Linked DNA regions of Homo sapiens: region 2 is linked to region 1. The links are contacts of gene promoters, found by promoter capture Hi-C in blood cells and fetal thymus (Javierre and others, 2016). All regions are on one chromosome and are shown on one strand. The core of a region is centred on a gene start or on the middle of the fragment in contact, and the rest is flanking DNA. Distances in the headings are between cores, read along the strand shown. Region 1 holds the start of CD93 (CD93 molecule). Region 2 has its middle 70 kb from the start of LINC03125.

Region 1 (4,868 bases), core at 1,347-3,846:
CTGCCTGGGCTTTGGTCTCCCTGCCCTTCACTCACTCTCTGTCCCCAGGGCTTCTGTACATGCTGTTCCCCCATCCCGACACCATTCCACATCTGAGCTGCTTCTCCTTTAGATTCCGGCTTGACTGCCTGTCTTCTCCAGAGGAGTCTCTCCTAATTGCCCATCCCCCAGTCAGGATGCCACCCCTGTATCAACCACGACCTCCCCGCTCCCCTGTGCTGCCTGCAATAAAGCCATCAGTGCCGTGACTTGTTCAAAGTTGTCCACTCTAACAGGACTCCAGGATCACAGAGGCAGGGATCCCCTCCTGGAATCCAGTGCCTCACTCAGTGCATAGCAGGGTCTTAATCAACAATTGTTAGATGGGTGGATGGACAAACAGATGGATGAATGAAGGGGCACAGGGAGGGTCTGGTGGCTTCTATGGAGAGTTCCCAAAATGTCTCAAATATCTTTGCTAAAATGCAAGGACTTAAGGCACATTCTTAGGAGGTATCCAGCTGGAGTCAGAGATGCCTCCTTGTCCCTTGGGGAGCCAGCGAGCTCCTAGCCCCCGGGACAACTCAACATCTCCATGGAGGCCACTGTGGTGGTCGCTGGTGCCGGGTCCACAGGCGTTCACTGTGTTCTCCACCGTGGCGCTTCTTCCCCTGGGGCCCTCACGGTCAGTGCAGAGCACCAAAGAGTTGCCGCTGTGTAGAGAATTCTTATAATTGTGCATTGCATCCATTTTGAATCTAATTTGGACCCTCTCCTACCAGAAGCAGGGTTTATTGCTCTTGACACGGTGTCTAGGGCTCCACCCCCTCCCAGTTCCTCAATGCGGCCAACCCAGATATCTGCCTTGTACACCCACCTCCTGGTGACCATTTCCCTGTGGGACAGGCAGATACAGCCCATTTGATGGTCTCAGTGACTCCACACCCCACAGGGACTTCCCAGACATGCCGCCATGCCCACCTCTCAGCCACAGGGACCCCACGGAGCCCGTGTCTGTTTGCTCTAAACCCACCAGTGAGAAGTCCCCTTGGGAAACCTGCTTGGGAAACGTCCTGGACCCCAATAAAGGCTTAGGACCCAGGTCTCTCTCTCTCCCTTCACCCCCCTCCAGGTGAGTGTTTGTGACCCAGACAGCTCCCCACTTTTTGCTGGCCCCGTGGGGTGCACTGCCCTCTCCCTGGGATCTGTAAGTGACACGGTGCTTGTGTTGCTTCCTGTGTCTTCTTGTGCTGCCTCCTGCATCTCCCCTGACCCACACCCCAACCCAACTCTCCTCCCATCAGGGATCTCTTAGGAAGTGGCTGTCTTGATAGGAATAAACTGGACATGGGTCAGACGAGAGCCACAAGGGTGTCTGTCCATAGAAACAAGTTTTATGTGAGAGAGACCCCTGGTCACTGGGCAGGGCTAGAATTTATAGTCAGTCTCTCAAAGTGAGAGATACAGCCTGCTACCAATGACAGGGGACTTGGAGAGCAGTGGAGCCTCTCCCTCAGCTGAGATGGTGCTGAGGTGTGGTCCCCTCAGGCCCCCAGAGTTTCCTGGCACTGGCTCCAGCAGCCCAGGGTCACCTTCTCAGCAAGTCATCATGGGTTGGCTTCCTCCTTGTCTGTTTCACTTCCCCTCCCACATAAACTAGTCTCCCCAAATCCTGTCTCAGGGTCCCCTCCTGGGGGATCCCAACCAATGAGCAAAGGTCTGTGGCTGCAGGAAAAGCACACTGTGAGTCCCTGGCTTTTGCCGAGTCGCGGTGTCGCGGGAGGGCCTGCCCGGGCTTCGATTCCCGCTCCCTGCCCAGATTTCCGGCCCTTGCTAGGAATCCTGAGCCGGGGGAAGTGAGCCTGCAAGCCCTGCGCCACGAGGCCGGACACATTTTCATTTTCTTTCTGATGCTTTTTGTGACCCTGACACCTCACAATGCAATATTTCCACTATGAAACCCCCAGAACTGCCAAATTTCACCCAATTTGGATTAACATTATCGAGGAGCTTGGCATTATGTTGAAAACCCAGACATTCCCACGACCCGTATCCTATTTAAAAAATGCCTGTCTATTTAAGGTTCACGATGGGAGGATAAAAGAAAAAAGGCTCCCAAAGTCAACAGAGAACATGAGCTAGGCAAAAGGAAAGTCCAGTTTGCTTCTAAAAAAGGCTGAAAATTATAACCATCCATGGCCTTGTGTCTTAAGTCTCAGAATTTTTTTTTTCTCTTTTGGTGGTTTGCAAACCAAAGTGGAATTTTATTATGGGTTACTAAGGGAGCTTCCTCGAGTTCCTAGCCCCCAAAGCCCCTGCTCACTCCATGGCATGCCTCCGAGGCTCCTCATGCCATGAGAAAGAGAATGGAGCCAAAATCAAGCCGGCAGTATCTCGGGGCTGTAACGTCTTCCCCCCGTCGCTGTTTCCACAGTGCTGAGCCAGGGACCCGGCAGAGCTGCCTGACTCCTTTTATGAACAACAGCACCGTGATGAAGGCAGCAGGAGTCAGAGAACTATTCATTGCAGGAAGCCCCAACATCCGGTGAGAAATAAGAAGTACAACAGTACAGGATGCGCCTTGGGTCAGGGGGACGTGGAAAGCCCTCAGCCTTTGTGTCCTTCTCTGCGCCGGAGTGGCTGCAGCTCACCCCTCAGCTCCCCTTGGGGCCCAGCTGGGAGCCGAGATAGAAGCTCCTGTCGCCGCTGGGCTTCTCGCCTCCCGCAGAGGGCCACACAGAGACCGGGATGGCCACCTCCATGGGCCTGCTGCTGCTGCTGCTGCTGCTCCTGACCCAGCCCGGGGCGGGGACGGGAGCTGACACGGAGGCGGTGGTCTGCGTGGGGACCGCCTGCTACACGGCCCACTCGGGCAAGCTGAGCGCTGCCGAGGCCCAGAACCACTGCAACCAGAACGGGGGCAACCTGGCCACTGTGAAGAGCAAGGAGGAGGCCCAGCACGTCCAGCGAGTACTGGCCCAGCTCCTGAGGCGGGAGGCAGCCCTGACGGCGAGGATGAGCAAGTTCTGGATTGGGCTCCAGCGAGAGAAGGGCAAGTGCCTGGACCCTAGTCTGCCGCTGAAGGGCTTCAGCTGGGTGGGCGGGGGGGAGGACACGCCTTACTCTAACTGGCACAAGGAGCTCCGGAACTCGTGCATCTCCAAGCGCTGTGTGTCTCTGCTGCTGGACCTGTCCCAGCCGCTCCTTCCCAGCCGCCTCCCCAAGTGGTCTGAGGGCCCCTGTGGGAGCCCAGGCTCCCCCGGAAGTAACATTGAGGGCTTCGTGTGCAAGTTCAGCTTCAAAGGCATGTGCCGGCCTCTGGCCCTGGGGGGCCCAGGTCAGGTGACCTACACCACCCCCTTCCAGACCACCAGTTCCTCCTTGGAGGCTGTGCCCTTTGCCTCTGCGGCCAATGTAGCCTGTGGGGAAGGTGACAAGGACGAGACTCAGAGTCATTATTTCCTGTGCAAGGAGAAGGCCCCCGATGTGTTCGACTGGGGCAGCTCGGGCCCCCTCTGTGTCAGCCCCAAGTATGGCTGCAACTTCAACAATGGGGGCTGCCACCAGGACTGCTTTGAAGGGGGGGATGGCTCCTTCCTCTGCGGCTGCCGACCAGGATTCCGGCTGCTGGATGACCTGGTGACCTGTGCCTCTCGAAACCCTTGCAGCTCCAGCCCATGTCGTGGGGGGGCCACGTGCGTCCTGGGACCCCATGGGAAAAACTACACGTGCCGCTGCCCCCAAGGGTACCAGCTGGACTCGAGTCAGCTGGACTGTGTGGACGTGGATGAATGCCAGGACTCCCCCTGTGCCCAGGAGTGTGTCAACACCCCTGGGGGCTTCCGCTGCGAATGCTGGGTTGGCTATGAGCCGGGCGGTCCTGGAGAGGGGGCCTGTCAGGATGTGGATGAGTGTGCTCTGGGTCGCTCGCCTTGCGCCCAGGGCTGCACCAACACAGATGGCTCATTTCACTGCTCCTGTGAGGAGGGCTACGTCCTGGCCGGGGAGGACGGGACTCAGTGCCAGGACGTGGATGAGTGTGTGGGCCCGGGGGGCCCCCTCTGCGACAGCTTGTGCTTCAACACACAAGGGTCCTTCCACTGTGGCTGCCTGCCAGGCTGGGTGCTGGCCCCAAATGGGGTCTCTTGCACCATGGGGCCTGTGTCTCTGGGACCACCATCTGGGCCCCCCGATGAGGAGGACAAAGGAGAGAAAGAAGGGAGCACCGTGCCCCGTGCTGCAACAGCCAGTCCCACAAGGGGCCCCGAGGGCACCCCCAAGGCTACACCCACCACAAGTAGACCTTCGCTGTCATCTGACGCCCCCATCACATCTGCCCCACTCAAGATGCTGGCCCCCAGTGGGTCCCCAGGCGTCTGGAGGGAGCCCAGCATCCATCACGCCACAGCTGCCTCTGGCCCCCAGGAGCCTGCAGGTGGGGACTCCTCCGTGGCCACACAAAACAACGATGGCACTGACGGGCAAAAGCTGCTTTTATTCTACATCCTAGGCACCGTGGTGGCCATCCTACTCCTGCTGGCCCTGGCTCTGGGGCTACTGGTCTATCGCAAGCGGAGAGCGAAGAGGGAGGAGAAGAAGGAGAAGAAGCCCCAGAATGCGGCAGACAGTTACTCCTGGGTTCCAGAGCGAGCTGAGAGCAGGGCCATGGAGAACCAGTACAGGTAAAGGGGGCCCTGAGTGACCGGGGGAGGGGATGGGCAGGCATGGGGGCACTGACTACAGTACAAAGAGGTGGCAGCAAGAGCAGGCCCAGGTTTCCTGTGGGCAGACACACCCTGGTCCTTGCAGCTGACCCCTCAACCTCCCCCCACGCCAGGCACTCGGGCCCCCTTAGAGCATACTGCCCATCTGCAGCACGGCCGCACGTG
Region 2 (4,752 bases), core at 372-2,871, 130 kb before region 1:
AATTGATAGACCATTAGCAAGATTAACCAAGAAAAGAGAGAAGATCCAAATAATCTCAATTAGAAACAAAATGGGAGCTATTACAACTGATACCACAGAAATACAAAAGATAATTCAAGGCTACTATGAACACCTTTATGCGCACAAACTAGAAAACCTAGAGGAGATGGATAAGTTCTTGGAAATATACAACCCATCTAGATTAAAACAGTAAGAAATAGAAATTCTGAACAGATCAATAACAAGTAGTGAAATTGAAACAGTAATAAAAACATTGCCAACAAAAAAAGCCCAGGACCAGATGAATTCATAGCTGAATTCTATCAGACATTCAAAGAAGAGTTGGTATCAATCCTACTGAAACTATTCCAAAAGATAGAGAAAGAGGGAATGCTTCCTAAATTATTATATGAAGCCAGAATTACCCTAATACCAAAACCAGGAAAAGACATAATTTTAAAAAAAAGAAAACTACAGACCAATATCCCTGATTAACATAGATGCGAAAATCCTCAACAAACTACTAGTGAAACAAATCCAACAGTATATCAAAAAGATAATACAGTATGATCAAGTGGGTTTCATACCAGGGATGCAGGACTGGCTTCACATACACAAGTCAATCAATGTAATGCACCACATAAACACAATTAAAAACCACATGATCATCTCAATAGATGCAGAAAAAGCATTTGACAAAATTCAGCATTCCTTTATGGTTAAAGCCCTCAGCAAAATCGGCATAGAAACGACATACCTTAAAGTTATAACAGCCATCTGTGACAAACCCACAGCCAACATTAAACTGAATGGGAAAAAGTTGAAAGCATTCCCCTGAGAACTGGAACAAGACAAGGATGCCCACTTTTACCACTTGTATTCAACATAGCACTGGAAGTTCTAGCCAGAGTAATCAGACAAGAGAAAGAAATAAAGGGCATTCAAATGGACAAAGAGGAAGTCAAACTGTCAATCTATAAATTCAATGCAATTCCCATCACTGTTTGCTGATGACATGATTGTTTACCTAGAAAACCCTAAAGACTCATCCAAAAAGCTGCTAGATCTGATAAATAAAGTCAGTAAAGTTTCAGGATACAAAATCAAGGTACACAAATTAGTAGCACTGCTATACACCAACAGTGACCAAGCTGAGAATCAAATCAAGAACACAACCCATTTTACAATGCTGCAAAAAATAAAATAGTTAGGAAAATATCTAATCAAAGAGGTAAACGATCTCTACAAGGGAACTACAAAACGCCACTGAAAGAAATCATTGATGACACAAACAAATGGAAACACATCCCATGCTCATGGACAGGTAGAATCAACATTGTGAAAATGACCATACTGCCAAAAGCAATGTATAAATTTAATGCAATTCCCATCAAAATACTATCATAATTCTTCACAGAACTAGAAAAAAATCCTAATATTCATATGGAAACAAAAAAGAGCCCACATAGCCAAAGCAAGACTAAGCAAAAAGAACAAATCTGGAGGTATCACATTACTTGACTTCAGACTATACTACAAGGCTATAGTTATCAAAGCAGCATGGTACTGGTATGAAAACAAGCATGTAGACCAATAGAACAGAATAGAGAACCCAGAAATAAAGCCCAGTACTTACAGTCAACTGATCTTTGACAAAGCAAACAAAAACATCAAGTGGGGAAAGGACACCCTATTCAACAAATGTTTGTGGGATAATTAGCAAGCCACATGTAGAAGAATGAAACTGGATTCTTATCTCTCATCTTACACAAAAATCAAATCAAGATGGATCAAAAACTTAAAACTAAGTCCTGAAACCATAAAAATTCTAGAAGATAACATCAGAAAAATTCATCTATTGGCTTAGGCAAAGACCAGGAACCCAAAAGCAAATGCAACAAAAACAAAGAGAAATAGATGGAAATTAATTAAACTAAAAAACTTCTACACAGCAAAATAAATAATCAGCAGAGTAAATAGACAATCCACAGAGTGGGAGAAAATATTCCCAAACTACGCATCCAACAAAGGACTAATATCTGGAATCTACAAAGAACTTAAAAAATTCAGCAAGAAGAAAACAAATAATCCCACCAAAAAGTGGGCTAAGAACAGAATAGACTACTCTCAAAAGAAGTTATACAAATGGCAACAAACATGTGAAATAATGCTAAACATCACTTTTATCATGGAAATGCAAATCAAAATTACAATGTGATACCACCTTACTCCTGCAAGAATGGCCATAATCAAAAAATCAAAAAATAATAGATGTTGGTGTGGATGTGGTGAAAAGGGAACTGCTGGTGGGAATGTAAATCGGTACGACCGCTATGGAAAACAGTATGGAGAATCCTTAAAGAACTAAGAGTGGAAGTACCATTCGATCTAGTAATTCCACTACTGGGTATCTACCCTGAGGAAAATAAGTCATTATATGTAAAAGATACTTGCACATGCATGTTTATAGCAGCACAATTTGCAATTGCAAAAATATGGAGCCAACCTGAATGCCCATCAACCAACAAGTGGATAAAGAAAATGTGGGATATATCTATATCTATATCTATATCTATATCTATATCTATATCTATATCTATATATCTATATCTATATATCTATATCTTTATCTATACCTATATCTATATATACACACACACCATGGAATACTACTAAGCCATAAAAAGGAACAAAATAATGGCATTAATATCAACCTGGATGGAGTTGGAGACCATTATTCTAAGTAAAGTAACTCAGGAATGGAAAACCAAACATCCTCTGTTCTCACTCATAAGTGAGAACTAAGCGATAAGGACGCAAAGGCACAAGAATGACTCTGGGGACTTGAGAGGAAGTGTAGGAGGGGAGTGAGAGATAAAAGACTACACAATATGTACAGTGTACACTGCTTAGGTGATGGGTGCACCAAGATCTCAGAAATCATCACTAAAGAACTTGTCCATGTAACCAAACACCACCTGTTCCCCCAAAAATATTGAAATAATTAAAAAATTTAAGAAAACCATGATAATGTAGTAAACCCCAAAACTAATTATAAAATCACTTTCACATACATTTCTTCATTTGGTTTTCGCAATAATATTCTGAGGTAGGTTTCAGATTAAGAAATTGAGAGTTAGAGAAGTTAAGTCATGTGTTAAAAGTTCTTACAGTTGGTAAGTCCATGCACTGATCCCATTGCTCTTCCCAACTTCCCATAGGTGATCAATCATACTACTACAATTTCCTTCATTCCAATAGGTGAATGGACAAGGGTTATCTTTCAAAAATCAGAAAAGCAGGTGAAAAAATTTGTTTTGAATTGTTGTCCATCCTATGGCACATTGTAATGGTGAAACTTTGGTGTATGATTTAGGTGATGATGCATTTGAACATGGAAGGAAGGGCAAGGACTCGGTCCTGGATCATGCTTCTCAAATGCTCATGCACAGATGGATCCCCTGGGTGCTCATTAAAGTGCAAACTTGGATTCCATATTTTCAGGTGGGACCTGAGCTTCTGCCTTTCTGTAGCTCCCTGCTGATGCTGATGCTGATGCTGCCAGTTTGTGGACCACACTTTGAGCAAGGGAGTAACTATATTTGTAGAGACATGATCATGTGCTATCTATTTGTGTCCTCTGAACTTACTGACTTCATTTTTTATTAAACAATAGGAGCAAAAAGGTAAGAACAGTGTATCTAGGGTAAAGGAATACATGAACAGTTATGCCAAAAAAAAGGAGTAACCGAGAGATTATTTAAAGTGTACGAGAAGATGTGCATAGGTTATGTGCAAATATGATGTCAATTTATATCAGGGACCTGAGCTTCCGAGAATTTTGGTATCCTTGGGGGTCCTGGAATTAATTACCCCCAACCCCTGCACAAAGGGCCAACTGTATTTGAAATTTTCTCTAGTAAAAAGATCCTGTCATTCCCTCCCACTGTGTCAGGGTGCTGGCTATTTAAGAGGACACGATTTAAAATATACCAGCATCCCCCTCCAACCAAACTTTTGGAGCAGTGTGTTGTGAGGAGAGCCCAGGAGGAGGCTGGGTTCTGAGACCCCTGTCCTAGACCTGGGTGGACGCCTCTTTGATGTCACGAAGAAAGGGTCTTTCATGGAGTCATATATGCTCTTTAAACCTCTGTTTTCAAATAGAAAATAACTATCTTGACCTTTTCTTCTTGCAGGCTGTGGCCTCACTCCAGAGGAGTCCAGGGCTCAGGTGGCCCCAGTACCTGTGGTTGGGGTTTGCCCTCAAATTTCTGTTCTTTGTTATCTCTTCCTCCTCTGCTGGTTTCGCCCTCAGACCAGCTCCCCTTCGACCACCAGCCATAAATGGGATACAATGTTTCCTTTTTCATAGCCCCTAGGAGAGAGGCTTTTTCTCCCAGTCATGGAATAACAGGCTCTCCTTCCAGCTGGATTGGGCCAGTTTATGTCATGGCTACTTACATCAATAGCATGGGGGAAAGCCAAGCACTGATTGGCCAAAGCCCGGACTCATGAGTCAATCAGTGGCAAGAGGAGGTGGGATCCTCAAGGAGGGCCTGGGCTTAGGAGAACCAGGCCTGGAGCTGGGGCAGGGCCCTCTTCCCCAGAAACAGGTGAGGGCAGAGCCTGGGCATACTAGAATTTTACATAGTATAGTAATATAGTATATTTTATGTAGTTCAGTAATTACTATACTAGCAATTAGAGAACGATCTAGTAATTGTAAATAACTACACTAGTAATGGAGATAAC

Evidence for each region. The method cuts DNA at HindIII sites, captures the fragments that hold promoters and counts their contacts. A CHiCAGO score of 5 or more calls a contact.
Region 2: a contact is called between a fragment that was not itself captured here and the fragment with the promoter of CD93 in region 1, in 5 of 17 cell types (neutrophils, monocytes, M2 macrophages and 2 more). The highest score is 28.1, in neutrophils.

What each region holds. Positions count from the first base shown.
Region 1 is chr20:23,084,052-23,088,919 of GRCh38, reverse strand. It overlaps CD93 (CD93 molecule), which reads left to right and starts at 2,596. Exons shown (of 2, transcript NM_012072.4): 1 at 2,596-4,661. The coding sequence starts at 2,728. RefSeq lists enhancers at 766-905, 2,433-2,612. The HindIII fragment of the contact is 6,182 bases long and covers 1-4,868 here.
Region 2 is chr20:23,215,318-23,220,069 of GRCh38, reverse strand. No RefSeq gene overlaps it. Among named protein-coding and RNA genes, the nearest start is that of LINC03125, 70 kb to the right of the region's middle. The HindIII fragment of the contact is 8,690 bases long and covers 1-4,752 here.